Regions from separate parts of the Homo sapiens genome. Here region 1 is linked to region 2. The links are contacts of gene promoters, found by promoter capture Hi-C in human tissues and cell types (Jung and others, 2019). All regions are on one chromosome and are shown on one strand. Each heading gives the region's core, a stretch centred on a gene start or on the middle of the fragment in contact. The rest is flanking DNA. Distances are from core to core; before and after follow the strand shown.

The links. The method cuts DNA at HindIII sites, captures the fragments that hold promoters and counts their contacts. A contact is called where the count stands out against the background at its distance.
Region 1: a fragment that was not itself captured here is called in contact with the fragment with the promoter of SNRNP40 in region 2 in 1 of the 25 tissues and cell types used here (adrenal gland).

Annotation. Positions count from the first base shown.
Region 1 is chr1:31,002,691-31,006,447 of GRCh38, forward strand. PUM1 (pumilio RNA binding family member 1) reads right to left here. Exons shown (of 22, transcript NM_001020658.2): 5 at 3,163-3,341. Among named protein-coding and RNA genes, the nearest start is that of SNORD103C, 36 kb to the left of the region's middle. The HindIII fragment of the contact is 7,138 bases long and covers 1-3,757 here.
Region 2 is chr1:31,294,792-31,298,524 of GRCh38, forward strand. SNRNP40 (small nuclear ribonucleoprotein U5 subunit 40) reads right to left here and starts at 1,997. Exons shown (of 10, transcript NM_004814.3): 1 at 1,820-1,997. The coding sequence starts at 1,960. It overlaps ZCCHC17 (zinc finger CCHC-type containing 17), which reads left to right and starts at 2,241. Exons shown (of 8, transcript NM_016505.4): 1 at 2,241-2,284. RefSeq lists an enhancer at 1,766-1,975. The HindIII fragment of the contact is 16,238 bases long and covers 1-3,733 here.

The sequences.
Region 1 (3,757 bases), core at 6-2,505, 290 kb before region 2:
TGATTGATATTTTTGAGCTCTATTATTCTGAAAGCTGCTCTCCTAAAGTTTGAGATTCCTATGTGGAATACTACCAAAAATTTACAGTGAATGCTCAGAACAAAATATGGTTGCCAGATTCTTCTTGTTAGCCAGAATGTATTCTTATCACAGAAGCCAAAACCACTAAACTGAGACCATTTGTACAATCAAAATGAATTCAAGCTAGACAAAGAGCTAAACAGCTTCAATCTAGCCATAACCAGCAAAGTTCACTGAAAATGGTAAAACACTACATAGAGATTTATTTTAGTTCTAAACACCTTTACCTGAAAAGTTAAAGTCTCAATTATCTGTTGTCAGTGTGTTAAGAATAACTTCTTAGTTACTTGCTTTGAGGTCTACAATCACTATACCATCAGAGATGATGCTTTCAGCTCTCAGGATTAAAGTGAGGCTTACTGGAATTAATGTTGATACAGCTACCCCAAAAGTAAAAATACGTGGATGCCCTGACCCCATACACTACCAAGTACCACTCCTCCTTTAGAACAATTATCTACAAGAAGCAGAAATCCTATCTTCCTGGTTCTCTGAATTCAACACTTTAAATGACAGACTAGACTTTAAAAGAAAAGGCTCACTTTCCTCAAGAAGATGTATGCATACTATGACAAAAATAAAGTGATTCAGGCTTCCACAAAAAGAGCTTTGGTCAGGTGTCATCCTGACCAACAGGCAGAGCAAAGTCAGGTTAGGTATAAAATCAAGAGGATACAACCACAAAGCTGATAATCAGTTCACTGGCCGGGCGCGGTGGCTCACGCTTGTAATCCCAGCACTTTGGGAGGCTGAGGTGGGAAGATCACCTGAGGTCAGGAGTTTGAGACCAGCCTGGCCAACATGGGGAAACCGGATCTCTACTAAAAATACAAAAATTACCCGGGCATGGTGGCAGGCATCTGTAATCTCAGCTACTCAGGAGGCTAAGGCAGGAGAATCGTTTGAACCCTGGAAGTGGAGGTTGCGATGAGCCAAGATCATGCCATTGCACTCCAGTCTGGGCGACAAGAGTGAAACTCCACCTCAATAATAATAACAATAATAATCAGTTCACTGAGCCACAGGTCTCCATCCACCAGAAGACTGTATATGCCAACAAGTGGCTTGATGTCACTAGATCAGTCCTCTTGTATCACTCTATAGATGCAATCTAAGTCAAACTATGGGATAATATTCCATTACCCACAATCTTCCTTCTAAAAGAAGCTGGAACACAGATTTGGAGAATTTTCATTTATCTTCATGCATACTTCAGAATTTTCATTTATCTTTATGCATACCTCAGCAGCTCAGTAAATTATCTTGATGGTTAAAGTCCAATCTTCTGGCCCCATCTATCTAGCCTGAAGTCTTAACCTCCTCTGTCACGATTCTTTTGTAAAAGAGGTAAATCACCAGTCTCCCAAGACAAATGATACAGCTTTTGTCATCAAAATAACCGTCTAGTGAGATGACTGTTTAAAGAGAGAAAAATAAGTGGCAAAATGATTCAATCCCACCATGTATCTTCCTCCTAATTCCAACTATTTTTCTGCCTCCTACAAGCTTCACAGTAATGCAGGCACATGCCTCCTGGTTAGTGCCCAAGAATTAGAAACTGATCACACACATGACAGAGAATTCACAGCTAGAGTCACAGGTTCCAGTTCACCACACTAGCAACCTACTGATGCACAACACTAATTTCTGCTGAGGAATCTGTGCTCATAAGATGAGGAAAGAGTGAGGACAGAAAAAGAGGTGAGCTGGGGATAGGGTGAAGAAAGAGAAGTAACTCACATCCAAAGGGTAGATCTTGTTCTTCCCAAGCAGCCCCTTGGGAAGGTTCAAATAACAGGAGCCATCTCCTATCTGATTCACAAGCTACTAAACCTGACCTAGGTCTCTGCAGGGTCAAAACACTGAAAAGCAATCAGGTCAGCTTTAGAATAGCTAGTACTTAAGAACTGTACTTGACACTTGAGAAAGCTGCACCAAAAATGAACTACTGTTACTCTAACAAAATTTAATGTGGAATAGGGAAAATAGGACCAAGCCTCTGATACCCAGCAAAAGATGTATAACACTAAGAAATACTGAGCAACAAATGCTATTAAAGAAAGACAGTTATAATATTAATTCTCAATTTGTGGGAAAGAAGGTGCTTCTGCTGTTCTTTCCCACAAATTACATTAAAATCTTTTAAATGACTGTTTTCAGGTGATATCAGCCCAAAATGACTGCAGGGAGAAATGTCTTTGAAAAAGTACAAAACAAGTTTAGACAGGAGAAAGGGAGGGAAGAAGATTCATGTGCCTCTCATGGCCTTCCTGTCTGTGACCTGGAATATGACAACAGTCGCAGAATTCAAAATGAGGAAGACTCAAATGGAAATACATCTTAACACTTCTCGATCTAGAAAGTTAATGATAAAGAAAGAAATTGTTTTGAGAAAGGCTATCACAGATGCTCATAGAAAAATGCTTAAGACTTAAAAAGAAAAAGGCTATAGACACAGAGACTTATTTGACTTCAGTTTAGCATCAGAGAGGTCAGTGATAATGAATCAAAAAAATTTGTAAGAAAGAATTAACAGAATCCCTAATTTCTTGACAGGCCAGGTGTGAGAAACAAAGCCGTTCAAGGAGGGCCAAAGAGGATTCTATAATTAAATCGTAGCTAACAAAACAAGAATAGCCCTATAATCTGATCTATATTAAGGTTTCTCGGGTATTGGCAAATCACTGCTCTCAAATCTGGAATTCCCTGTTAACATCCCAGCATCAGCTTTATTTTTTTAATTCCTTCACCACCCCCCTTTTGCTTTTATTTTAAAGTAAAAATGGTGTTTTCTGATAGACCAATGAACTTTGATCCAGATTTCAGTTCTTATCTCACAATACTATCAATGTGTCCCCCCACCAAAACATTATTACTTTAGTTTTTAAAAGTTGAGTTTACATCTCCTACTATGTTTGCTGAGTTCTATTTACAACAAACGTTGTTTGAAAATACCCTGTAATTAATGCTGTGAACATCTAAGGAAACTAAACAGGCATGTTTTGCTTTAGGGGAAAAAAAGAGAGAGAGAGAGAGAGAGAGAGAGAGAGAGATAGGAACAAGTTCCTCAAGCCAACTTACAAATCCTCCTTTTCTTAGACAGGAATCGCCCGGGGATGAGCTCAACACATACTCCACCATGCTAACGCCTAGTCCCCCACTCTCCGATCGTGGGGACAGTACAGAATTGACCTCACTGTTCACATGGAAACTCTGACCAGGTCTTCTCTGCACCATGATTGGCTGGGAAACTGAATGATCTACAAAAAAGATACACAAGCATGATACAGTGCAGCCAGAGGCTCAAACAAATTATGAGTGATGTCTCATGGATAACCAATGGAATCAGGAAACTTGCCATGGTCAGTTGAGCCAAAACCTCCTATCATGTCCCTCACTGTATGATATTCAACATAAGCTAAGGAAATGGAACACACTCCTCATTTATCCAGGATAGCAGAGGAATACAACAGTTTATCTAGCTTATCTGGTTTAACTAGCTGAGTGGATAAAATTTTTACCCCTTTATAAGTAAAAGGATTTCTTTTTAATATATTTTATTAGTATTACTAAAACAAAATATGATTTTACTGCCCTTTTTAAAAACAATATAATTTGTTCTTTTCTGATAATTCACTGTCATCATGAGGTTCCATGCTTACGTTGTACTGTAATA
Region 2 (3,733 bases), core at 747-3,246:
ATTAGCCAGGCATGGTGGCGGGCGCCTGTAATTCCAGCCACTCAGGAGGCTGAGGCAGGAGAATCGCTTGAACCCGGGTGGCGGAGGTTGCGGTGCACCGAGATTGCGCCACTCCACTCCAGCCTGGGTGACAAGAGCAAAATTCCATCTTAAAAAAAAAAAAAAGAAGTTACGTGCTAGGCACTGGGCAAACAGCAATGAACAAAATAAACAATGGAGCTCGCTGTTCCAGTGGGAAAGGGGGAAGGGAGAAGGGAAGGTGAGAGAAAACAAGCAAACTATATATGTGGTGTCATGTGCTATAGAGCAAAAGAAGGGATGGGGATGGTGGCTCATGCCTGTAATCTCAGCATTTTGGGAGGCCAAGGTGTGCGGATTGCTTGAGCTCAGGAGTGAAATCCTGTCTCTACAAAAAAATACAATTAGTTAGATGTGGTGGTGTGTGTCTGTGGTCCCAGCTACTCAGGAGGCTGAGGCAGGAGGATCACTTGAGCCCAGGTGGTGGAGGCTGTACTGAGCCAGTGGTCAACACAGAGAGATTGTCTAAAAACAAAAAAACAAAAAAAGAGAGAGAGAGAAGCAATGTGGGTTCCACAGTATGTGGTACTGCAATTTAAAATAGGGTGGTCAGGAAAATCCTCACTGAAAAAATTACATTTGGGCAAATATTCGCAGGAGCTGAATAGTAAACCATGTAAACATTTGTGAAGAGCAATCCCACAGAGAGGACAGCAAATGCAAAGGTCCTGAAGCAGAGGCTTGGAAGAGAGAGTAACTGAAGCCAGGTGAGCAATAAGAAATTGGTCAGAGAGGTAAAGGGAAAGAGGGCAAATAATTACAAGAATTTTGGTTTTTACTCTGGATGAAGTACAAAGCCACCAGAAAGTTTTCTGCAGAGTGTAATGTGATCTGATGTTTAGAAGGATTCCTTTGGTTATTGGCTTGGTAACAGGTGCTGATACAAAGGTAGAAAGTGGAAGACCAGTTAGGGTCCCACTACAAAAATGCCAGATGAGATAATAATGGCTTAGGCCATGAGGCAATGATGGAGATGGTAGAAGTAGCAATTCTAGACCTATTTTGAGGACGGTGCCAGCAGGATTTATTGAGGAGATGTGAGGACACTCGTATTTCCTCGTCTGAGCCTAAACAGGACATTAGAAGTGTGATCACTATTTCTATCTTACAAAAAATGTAGTTAGGAGCATGGTTTCTCAGTTCGAAATCTGCTTCTATCACGTACTTGGTAAGTCTGTTTTTCCATCTGCAAAATGGGTTAATAACGTTCCTAACAGGCTGCTACCAAGATCAATGGAAATTTCATATACGAAACACTTTAGTACAAGAGTCAATGAATGTTAGCTGCTATTTAGTTGTTAATAATACTAGTGCAGAGAAATAAAGGGAAAAGCAACTTGCCCAAAGTCCCAAAACGAGCCAACACAAATCATTTCCCTTTTTTCTTCCCTCCCTCATTCATTCATTCTACACACTCTTCGGAATTTTTGTTCTATGCCAGATCCATGTTAGAGTCAGGATGCTTAAACCCGGGTCAGGGTTTTGAGCCCAAGGTCCTCAACTCTAATTCTAATGCTATCTCAGGGCAGTCGAGAGGCTGAAAACGGGCGCCAAACGGGGGAACACGTACGCAGCATTCGCAGGCTATGGGGAGCTTTTACAGTGTTTATGTGCTTTAACTCTGCGTAGAAACTCTCGTTCTGCCCCCGCAATGCGGGAAAGGGTCAGGGATCACCAGATACAGCGCTCTGAGGGGAGGAAGATGAGCTGAGGGCCAAAGGCCGCCTGCTTCTTCACTTACCGCTTGCAGCAAGGCTCCCGGCGTCGCCTGCTGCTGCCCGGCTCCTGGGCCAGACCCCGCTCCCAACAGCAACTCATGCCGCTGCCGCTTGACTGGAACCAGCGGCAACTCTGGGCCCTTACGCTTCTGCTGTTCTATCATGGCGGCAACCGGTCTCTTCAGCGCCGCCACTGACCGCGCTGCCGCTCTCAGGCGCCACGCAATTGGTTCCAAATTAGTCCTTCCTCCACAACTTCCAGCTTGGAAGAACCAATCGGCTTTCAATATTTCCATTTGCACCGCCCTCGGATAGTCTCTTGTTATTGGGCATATCTTTCTGACGTCATGAGAGTGCGATACCAGGATTGGTGGACGGAGCTGGCGACCGCCCTAGGCGCGCTGGGTCTTGTGGGTGGAAACGCGCTGGCTGACTGGGGTCGGCGTTTAGTTCAGCGCAGCGACTCGGGGACCTGGAGCTGACGCCTAGTACGTATGAGGAAGAACGGGGTGGGTGGCTGCCTGAGTCTGGAGGCGACGCCTCGGTTGTGCAGTCTGAACCTGCCCTTCTCAGCTGAGGGTGCTGACAGCAAGGGGTGGGAGGCGGGCCCCGAGTCCCCAGCTGTGGTAAGTAGTAGCCTGGGCTCCCTTTCGGGGCAGGAGCGGAGCCTTGGGGTCTCTGGCGGCAAGACCCAGCCCCTGCGGCTCCCTTCTTCAAGAGCGCCCATCGTGGCCAGTCCTGTGCCGGGCATTCCCAGGGAGAAAGGCCTGCGTCCCAGCCTCCTCCGGTGCCCCATTTGGCCGAGGAGGCTGACTTGTTTCTGCCACTGATTTTGCAGTTTTTGATCAGGGCCTACTGTATGCCCCCCTGAGAGAGACAGTGATGAAGGAAATGTCCGACTCCTTCTCCAGAGCACAGTCTTGTTGAGAAATTTGAGACTCATGCCCATGAACGTGGTCATTGCCTCAGTCGTCCTGCTGATATTCATTTAGCAGCGCGTTGGGGGTATGTTGTGAACCGGGCACGGTCCCTACTCTCAGGGCGTTTAACTCTGGTGGGGAAAACGTTAAACAATGACCTCACTAATACATGGAAATGCCTCCTACTGCTGCCTGATGCTATGAGTGCCTGAAATAAGCAGGAAGGTTTTTCAGAGGAAAAGATGCCTGCGCTGGTAGCTGCAGGAAGTGTTGTAATTAATTAGGTGAAGAAGTGAAGGCAGAACCTTCCATAGAGAACTACTTGTTCAGAGCCCTGAGGCACTTGGGAGGAAAATGACTAAAAGCACAAAGAGCCAGTGTGGCTGGTACAAAGAGAATGAAGGGAGTATGGTACAAGATGAAGCTGTACGTGATAGCGGTCAGACCTTGCAGGAATTTGTAGCTTTTATTTTAAAACGGATGAGATACCACTGAGCCGTCTTCCCCCAGTGGGGTGTGGTGGAGGAGGGGACTTGATCCCTCAGGCTCAGTGGTGTGAACAGACGGGGGTTGGGGAAGCCCTAGTCGATGTATGTGGACCACTTGGGATATGCAGTAATCCTGGTCAGAGATGTCAGTGAGGACTGAGATATGGGTGGAACTGCAGAGAATTGGACAGATTCTAGAGGTATATAGGAGGTAAAATGGGTGGGACTTGGTGATGGGTTGATTTTAGGGAGTGAAGAGAGGAATCAAAGGTAACTCCTAGGTTTCTGGCTTATGTAGTTGAATAGATGGTGGTACCATTCACTCACTATCACGGAATCCCTCAAGCTGGATAGGGAACACTAGAAGATGATTAGAGACCAGTTTTTTTTTGTTTTTTTTTTTTTTTTGAGACAGGTTCTTGCTCTGTCGCCCAGGCTGGAGTGTGGTGGTGCAACCTTGGCTCACTGCAACCTCCACCTCCCAGGTTCAAGCAATTCTCCTGCCTTAGCCTCCCCAGTAGCTGGGATT